3 separate regions of the Homo sapiens genome follow, and all the other regions are linked to region 3. Evidence: promoter capture Hi-C in 16 types of primary human blood cells and fetal thymus (Javierre and others, 2016). All regions are on one chromosome and are shown on one strand. The core of a region is centred on a gene start or on the middle of the fragment in contact, and the rest is flanking DNA. Distances in the headings are between cores, read along the strand shown. Region 1 overlaps DYRK1A (dual specificity tyrosine phosphorylation regulated kinase 1A). Region 2 overlaps DYRK1A (dual specificity tyrosine phosphorylation regulated kinase 1A). Region 3 holds the start of VPS26C (VPS26 endosomal protein sorting factor C).

Evidence for each region. The method cuts DNA at HindIII sites, captures the fragments that hold promoters and counts their contacts. A CHiCAGO score of 5 or more calls a contact.
Region 1: a fragment that was not itself captured here is called in contact with the fragment with the promoter of VPS26C in region 3 in 10 of 17 cell types (naive CD4 T cells, naive CD8 T cells, total CD8 T cells and 7 more); the score reaches 9.4 in naive CD4 T cells.
Region 2: a contact is called between a fragment that was not itself captured here and the fragment with the promoter of VPS26C in region 3, in 8 of 17 cell types (naive CD8 T cells, naive CD4 T cells, naive B cells and 5 more). The highest score is 8.5, in naive CD8 T cells.

Annotation. Positions count from the first base shown.
Region 1 is chr21:37,394,587-37,397,432 of GRCh38, forward strand. The region is part of intron 1 of DYRK1A (dual specificity tyrosine phosphorylation regulated kinase 1A); the gene reads left to right. Among named protein-coding and RNA genes, the nearest start is that of DYRK1A, 29 kb to the left of the region's middle. The HindIII fragment of the contact is 7,776 bases long and covers 1-2,846 here.
Region 2 is chr21:37,412,574-37,415,379 of GRCh38, forward strand. All of the region lies in intron 1 of DYRK1A (dual specificity tyrosine phosphorylation regulated kinase 1A), which reads left to right. Among named protein-coding and RNA genes, the nearest start is that of DYRK1A, 47 kb to the left of the region's middle. The HindIII fragment of the contact is 8,167 bases long and covers 1-2,806 here.
Region 3 is chr21:37,265,761-37,268,584 of GRCh38, forward strand. It overlaps VPS26C (VPS26 endosomal protein sorting factor C), which reads right to left and starts at 1,574. Exons shown (of 8, transcript NM_006052.2): 1 at 1,478-1,574. The coding sequence starts at 1,534. RefSeq lists silencers at 1,170-1,479, 2,220-2,379 and an enhancer at 1,620-1,679. The HindIII fragment of the contact is 6,761 bases long and covers 1-2,824 here.

The DNA.
Region 1 (2,846 bases), core at 7-2,506, 130 kb after region 3:
CCTGTCAGATCAGTGGCGGCATTTGATTCTCATAGGAGCGCGAACCCTGTTGTGAACTGCACATGTGAGGGATCTAGGTTGCATGCTCCTTATGAGAATCTAACTGATGATCTGAAGTAGAAGAGTTTCATTCTGAAACCATTTCCCACCTCCTCCTGTCCGTGGAAAAATTGTCTTCCACAAAAGTAGTCCCTGGTGCCAAAAAGGTTATGGGATACTCAGCTCCACGTTGCACCTAAAGTAGCAAAAGACTAGATAAAAACCCTGAATATGTACTTGTGAAATCCTGAATATGTACTTCGTGAAATCAGTGACATAAACCTCCTCCTGGGTTACGTGTTACAGTTCACAAACGATCTCAAGTATTCTACAGTTCACCTGTGGTTGTCCTTTGTACAGGTGGAAGAAGAGAGGGATCTCAGATTCCCTGTAGTTGCGTCCCCGCCCCCAGACAGATCTCTCCCTTCTTCATGCCCTGGATTGTTTCATCCATTTAAATAGTTCTCTTCTTGATTCTGACTTGAGGGATGGGCATCCTGTGATTAGGTTTGGATGTGACAGTGGAAGTTTGTCAGAAACATTTTGGCTCATGGGCCAGATACATTGGAGTCCGTCCGAAAGCTCACTAGGAAATGTAGATTCTCAGGTTTAACCTAACTAGGCTAACTATACCTAAGTATCTTAGCAGAGGTTTGGATGTTACAGAGTTTGAAGATCGCATTTTTAGGCCCTGTATTCTTATTCTCTGTAAGGATGATGTCGCCCTTCAAGGGTGTAAGGATTGTTATTGGGGAGTATATATTCAGGGCAGCTTGAATCTGTGCTCCCGCTCCTCACCTCATTGTTCTTCGGAGGGGGATGGAAAATCTTAGATGTTAATCATGGTTTGTGGCCCTCCAGAAGTTAATCTTACCTGACAAAACCTTATTCCTTAATGTTTAATTTCCCTTGTTAAGAATACATTTAATTTATTGAATTAAATTTAAATTAAATTTCTCTCCTGGGGATGGGATACTCAAAAAAAGGTTGAGAAACATAATCCTATAAGAATTACTCTGGCATAGTACCTGCCCTGCATTATCTGTGTCCCCTCTCCCATCTTTGGAAACCTTAGGATGTGATTTTGGCTATATTATTTTAATACTAAGATTTTACTTACATTTAATGGATTAAAAAGAAAAACATTCTAGATGGGTGGAAACATTTACTCTGTGAAATTTTGCATCCAAGTCAATTGGTTTTTATCCTTGTGAATAAAGCCCTGTTAGGATAGACTCTGTTCTGGGATTTGGAAACCTTTTGTCTTCATAATGGCACTGTATACTGAAAACTCTTCATGTTTTCCACCTTGTTAACATATGACAAGCCAGGGCTTTTATATGCCACACAAAACATAGGAGATGTTCTCTCAGGGACATGTTCTTAAGTCATTGCTGTCTTTCCTCCTGGGAGTGATTCCTGGCCCCATGTATCTGTTTTCTGTGTAGTGCAGGGCCAGTAGGTGAAGTGGGTGGACCACAGGTCCCTGTGCCCTTGTCCTCTAGGAAGGAGAAGGGGTATAGGAGGCATATTGTTATCTGGGTTTATTGGTTTGTGGCTTTGGACTTGGTATAAATGAAAACGCCTCTTTTTTTTTTTAGGTTGGGGATGGAGGGCAGTAGTGGGAGAAGTAGAATAGGGTTTCTAATATATTACCCTCTTTAAAGAAAATTTTCAAAATGAGTTATTTTTCTGTCATTTAAGGTAATGTTAACTTCTTTGTATTTGTCCGTTTTCTGTGTAATTTGTCCAGGCTCAGGAGAGTTAAAGGCATAGTATAGCCAGAAAACTGAAGTCCTCTGGAAATCTCCATTCACCTGAAAATACATTGCTTGGCAATTGATAGATGCTGGGGTAAATTATTTTTTGAGTCAGTGAATTAAATTAATCCAAAGTTTTTTTGTTTTTTTTTTTAAGTGTAATTCCCTGTTCTATGATTTTAGAATCTAGTCCGTAGCGTAATATTGAGGGAAAAGTGAACTAGGAAGTTAAGAGACCTGGCATCAACTATTCTTACTACCTACCATGTTTTAAAATTTCCATAGGCTTAACTTTCATTGTTTATAAACTTGAAGAATTGGTAGACGACCCTTTGAGAGCCCTTCAGGGTGCAGAATTTTATCATCAAGTATGGTGAACACATTAGAATGTCCTCAACTGATGTAGTTGTGAGAAGGAATTAGTTCCATTTATCATGTAGAGAGTAGTGAATTAGGGTAAACAGTTGAGCCACTCTAACAGTTCCAGCAATTTGATGGCTCTAAGAGCATGGAATCATCTGGAGGTGAGTGCCTAGGTTGGTGGCGGTGACTGCCTCACGTGGTCATCTGGAGTCATGCATTTTTTTCCGTCTTGTTCCTCTGCTCTGCCCTAGGGTATAGTCCTCGTGTGTTGTCTCTGTACTAGCTCAGAAGATGCAGAGTAGGAGGTGCAGAGACAGAATAGAAATGCTCACTCAGTGTCCTAAGGCCCAGAAGTGGCACTTGTTTTCACATTCTTTCCATGCGAACTTAGCCACATGGCCATACCCAGCCACAAGGGAGCCTGGGAGGTATAACCTAGTTGGGCCGTCATGTGCTGGGCTACCATTACTATGGAAGATGATGACTGGAGTCTCTGCCACAACTAGTATATATGAAGCTATTTCTTAGTATATTTCTGGGGACCCTTTTTCCTCATTTTTGTTTAGCAAAGAATTAATGTAATTAATGGAAAAAGTAAATTATTTGGGCAAGTTGTGCTAAGGGTAGTATATTGAAAGACAAGTTTTGAAATTAATTAGAAACCTAAAACTAACCAGCCCTGAT
Region 2 (2,806 bases), core at 117-2,616, 150 kb after region 3:
AATTCTAGGAAGCATTTGTAATACTTAAGGTGAATTAAGGACTTGGTTCAGGTGACTAAAGTGAGCATGGAGAGGAATGGAAAGGCATGAGGCACTTCGAAAATGGATAGGATTTAGTAAGACCATTTAGATAAAGTCAGCAGCTTCTAATGAAATTACTGAAAGAATGGTGGTGCGGGAATAGAGATGGGAAGTTCAAGTGGATAACATGTGGTGCAGGAATGTGATGAGGAGTTGTAGGCATAGAGAATGGAGGCAGGGATGTGGCACTGTAGGCAGCCACCCAACAGCTTGTTAGACTAGATATTGAGTGAAAAGTTTGAGTGGAGAAGAGAGTTTGAAGTATTAGTTTGGAGTAAACCATTGAAAATACTTCTTTTGCAGGGAAAGATGTATAGAGAAATGAGTGAAGCGGTCAGGGGATAGAACCAGAGGTCACATCTGAGGTTAGGGCTAAATGTGAAAGAGACATGGATTATTTGGAGGATAGCTAGTGTTGTGAAATACAAGAACATACATTTTAAGAATTTTTAAGGGGGTAGCATTTCTCTGTAAACTCCACAGAAGTGTGGGAGGGGAAGTAAGTAAAACTGAACTCACTTTACTGCTTTTAGTAATAGACTCATTGGAAGAAAATGTAAGCTATTCATGCAGTGTGTGTTTTTGATTATTTCTGGGCCTTGTTATTTTTCTGTGTTTCTGAGATGCAAGGATTATTTAAAGGCAATGGTTTATAAAATGATATATAATTACATACGTATAAAAGTACATATAACCAACTAAGTATATGTATGCATGCACTCATGCAAATCAATTATATATTTACATTTTATATATAAATTATATATGTGTGTATATATTGTATTATAGAACATCCTGTGTGGAAAAGTTGGTGCTGTCAGAAGGGAGAGAGAGCAAGGCAGTTTTCCAGTGCATTTCTTATAAGCTAGTTATGAGAAGGGCTTGCAGGTTACTGATTGAACATATTCTTTCTAAATGTCTTCTGTCTGATAGATACTCCTTTGTTAGGGAATATATACATAAATGAGATTACCCTAGATGTTCAGGTTAGTGAGGGAAACGTTACAATAGATAGCACTAAGCGCTGGATCTCAGCTTTGATTCCCAGAGCACCTAGAGCGTCATTGGGCCACCTCTTCTAAGTTCCTCTTAAGATCTAGAATTGATTTGAATAATAGAAATTTTGAGTACATTTTGTGTAGGTGACATAAAAGAACATCCTTAAGCAAGCATATCAGTTAAAGGACTTGTCTTCATGGCTCTTGGTGTTTTCTTCATACCACTTTGCTCTTAGTTCCTGTTAGCAGAGGGGAAGAAGCAGGCTCTAAGATTTAAAATTCATGCTAGTGAAAATTAGAAACAAGCCACATACCCTCAATAGGTGTTTGCTTAAAATGCATTTACGTCTTTGCAGTGGAGTACTGTGCACCTGGTAAAATGATGATGCAAATATAAATTGTTGATATAAAGATATATATGTATATATACATATATTTAAGGAGCAGAGATTCCAACACCAAATTTTGGGTGGTGGAATTTTATTAGGTTGGTGCAAAGGTAATACAGTTTTTGCCCTTGGGAGATTGGGCTGATGGTGACACCCGTTACCCAAGACTGAGAATACAGAAAGGAGAAGTGGATTTTTTCTCTGTTTTTCCTCCCTTTTTGAGTAGGGGAAATGGTAGATTCAGTTTAATATGGCCAAAAGCAGTGGCTTAGTAGTCAGTTTGCTTGGATTTGAATATCTCTCTACCATTAGTCGTGTGTGATTTGGGATGGTTTCACTTCACCTCTCTGTGCCTTAGTTTTCTCACCTGGACAATGGGAATGATAGTGGTACTTACTTTTTGTAATTATGGGGTTTAGTGGTTTAAAGTAGAAAATTTATACCAGGGCCCATTAAAGATAAGTCATCTCATGCAGTGAAACATAACTGGGACTTTCGAGCTCAGTTCACTGAGGTCTTCTGGGCCTGGAACAAGCCCGCCTTATAAAAGTTGGCTTTACATACTACATACTAAAGGAGTTCTTAATGTAGACTTTTAACCAACTGTCTTAGAAATGAGCCTTTGGAACCTAGGTCTGCATGTGATAGGGGTGCTTTCTAGTGTCTACTTGATAGACCAGTCACTTTCTAGTAGTGGGAGTTAGGTTCCCGAAAAGCTCTGTGGTTTGAGAATTCATTTTTGAGAATATCTATTCACAAGAGAATAGATAAACAGTTGATAGACTTGAAGGTCATACAAACCTGTGCAAATCATTGTAAATGTTTTCACATTCTAAAGGAAGACAGAGGACAGCAAGCAAAATAGAATATCAGTGGTAGTTTACATATTTTGAGTTAGTAACAGAGTACCTGTACTACTACTTTACAATTACTGATGATAACTTACCCCCAGAAACTTCTGTTTCTCCCCTTCAGTTTTAGAAATGATGTGTCAGTGCATTATGTATTGTTGCAGGTAATGTGCATATGAGGCATTTCCCTCCTGTTTTCCTCTATTTGTTGGTACGTCCAAATACTCAGTGCCTGATTTTGTCTTTCAGGCCCAGATGTGCTCTCAGAGATACTGAGTTGATGGTTGAGATAGCCAAAATTTGGGGCAAAACTCATTTAATCTGCTCAGCTTTTAGTTCTTAAACCTTCTCCCTAGTTCTTTTCACATAATTGCATGAGAAAGCACATGCTTCTAGCCTCTTTAACACAAATTTCAGCTATTCCACTTCCAAAATGCCATTGGAGTAGTATAATCCAGCACCCATGTTTATAATCCCACATGTTCTT
Region 3 (2,824 bases), core at 324-2,823:
GGTGAGTTGTGGCCTTCTCTGTGCATCATGCCAAGGGGTACCGAATGTCAGTCGTCTCATTAGTTGTGATGGTGAAGTGGTGTTCATTGTTGTGCTTGGCTAGAGGAGTGTGACTACCAGATTTCTCCATTATAAAGGTAGCTTTTTCTCTTTTTTTTTTTTTTTTTTTTTTTTTGAGACGGGGTCTCACTCTGTTGCCCAGGCTGGAGTGCAGTGGCACAATCTCGTCTCACTGCAGCCTCCGCCTCCCGGGTTCCAGCGATTTTTCTGCCTCAGCCTCCCTGGTAGCTTGGATTAGAGGCGTCCGCCACCACGCCCGGTTAATTTTTGTATTTTTAGTAGAGACCAGGTTTCACCATGTTGGCCAGGCTGGTCTCGAACTCCTGACCTCAGGTGATCCGCCCGCCTCGGCCTCCCAAAGTGCTGGTAATACAAGCGTGAGCCACCGCGCGGGCCAGATTTTTCCCTTTGTAATTAACCATCAAGGGGATGACCATTTGAGCTTGTGTAAATAAGAGCAGGCTTCCCTAGTTGTCTTTTGCCCAAAAGTTTTAGCATCCATCCAAGACCTTTGTCTGAAATTCTGTCCCTTTTGAGATTACTTTGCATTAATATGACCAACCACTGCGATCAATTTTATTCCAAAGAGTGTTGGGGCTGTGATTTCAACCCTAGCTGCACATATATCACCGGTATCGCTGGGAGTGGAACCCAAGCAATCATATTTTAAAATTCTCCAGGATGACTGATTCTGATGTAGAGTAAGGGTTGAGATTCCCCGAGTTAGAGGAACCTTACAACACCCTCATTTGCAAATAAGGACACTGAGGCCCAAGGAGGTTAAATGACTGGCCAATGTCACAAAACCTGTTAATGGCATAGTCAAGATTTTACTTTTTTATACTTGCATTTTAATAGCCATTCCTTTGTGTCAGTCGAAGAATAAAACCAGAAAAAGCAGTAACTTTCGTAGTATGTTAGTATGTTGTTAAAAGTGACTACCATCTAATATATGCTGCCGCCAGACATACCCATTTCTGCTTCCAAGGTTTGTTTTAGCTTTCGTTCATTAGACCTTTGCGGTCACCTTAGGAGAGAGGGAAAGGGGAGTTTGGTCGTCAACTCCTCCGCCCTCAGCGCTCACTGAGGGAGCTCAAGCCTGAGAACCCAACACCGCCGGGTGTTCAAGGGGCCAGATGGGAAGAGCGCAGCCCCGGAGCTGGGCGCCTGCCCTGCACGTCCCGCAGATGCGGCGGCGGCGCCTGCCCTGGGGCCTCCTCGCAGGGCAGCCAGCCTCGCGCGGGAAGCACCTGGCGGGGACGCACCTGGCGGGAACGCACCCACCTTGGCGGAGACGCACCTGGCGGGACAGCCCTGCCCCGCCTAGGGACGCGGGACGTGCGCAGAGCGATGGAGACAGCGGAACCTGCAGACCCGCCCAACCCCACCTCCATCCCCACCCCCAGCCCCCACTTACCCCGGCGTGATAAACTTTATTCGCTCTTTTAATCTTGATGTCCAGGGCGGTCCCCATCTCCAATTCTCCGCAGCAGCCGCCACTTCCGGCTGCGCGTGACCCCAGGGAAACAAGGGGCGCCTCCCCGCTTCGTTCTGGGCCCCGCCCCTTTCCCTCTCTGCCGGCAGTGGCTCACGTGACCTCGCAGCGGCGTCGCACACACTCCCTAGCTCCGAGGGGCGAATGCCCACGCCTTCCTCCTTCCGGCACAAGAGCCGGCCTTAGTGCGGGCCGAAGCGCTGTCACGGTTCACCCCGCCCCCTCTGGGCGTGAAAGACGGGGCCAAGCTAGCCCCACCCCTTCCGTAGGGACAGTCTTACGCCGGAAATGCTCCTTTGCTGTCCGGGTTAGCGGAGGGAGGGAGGAACGGCTCTCCCCGCGTGCCCCGCGGCTGGAGGCGGAGCCGAGCCTGTCTGTCGGTTGCAGCCTGCGCAGGAAGGATGACGCTCCCGTCAGGCTGTGCGGCGCAGACGGTCGCCCAATGGAGTTGTCTTTCAGGAGGTTTTAACTTGGTAATGCCTGCCCTCCTCAAATGTCCTTAGTCTCCTCAACTCTAGCCCTCCACCGCTTTCTCCCTGGGGTTCTGAAGAGCCGGCGCCCCCTTGTCTGTCTGCGGCCAGGCGCCGCACCCTGCCCTTCCCGCGGGAGCGGTTCCGGTCACCCTCAGGGGTGCGGCCCCTGCGTGCTAGTCCTGCAAAGCGCTGATTGGCCGGCGGCTCGGTTGCCTCGCGTCCCAGCGCCAGCTGGGCCTAGGGCCAAGGTCTCGGGAAGCGCCGGGTGACCTCGCTCCTCTCGGAGCCGCGGGCGCTGGGTCACCCGCCAGCCGGGCTCCGCGGGCCGCGAGGGATTGTGGGTGTTCCCCAGGCGCGTGTCCTGGAACCGGGTGTTAAATATTCAGATCCGTGCGCCCCGCGTGAAGGGTGGAAAGGCACGGCCCCCAGGCTCTGGGGCTTGGAGATTGGTTGCAAATGAAAGACTGAAAGCTGGAGTGAATCTGCCTATTATTTTTATTCCCAGCAACAGCTGACCCCAGATACAGTTTGTGGGGGTGGGGGGCGTTACTGCAGGGCAGGGCAGTGCACTGTTAACGTACTTCGTTTATTGAGTTAAAATCTCTTGTAAATGTTATAAATGAGGATTTTGCCAATAAGCAGAAGGTCAAATTTCATTTTGACAAATGATTTAATTAAATAATGCGGTGAAAAGTGCTTTTTGTTTAAATTCTTTGCTTTTTGTTTAAATTCTTTGATTCTGATCATTATTTTTTAAAGTGCATTGCTTTTGGGATAACATCAGAAACTATCTGTA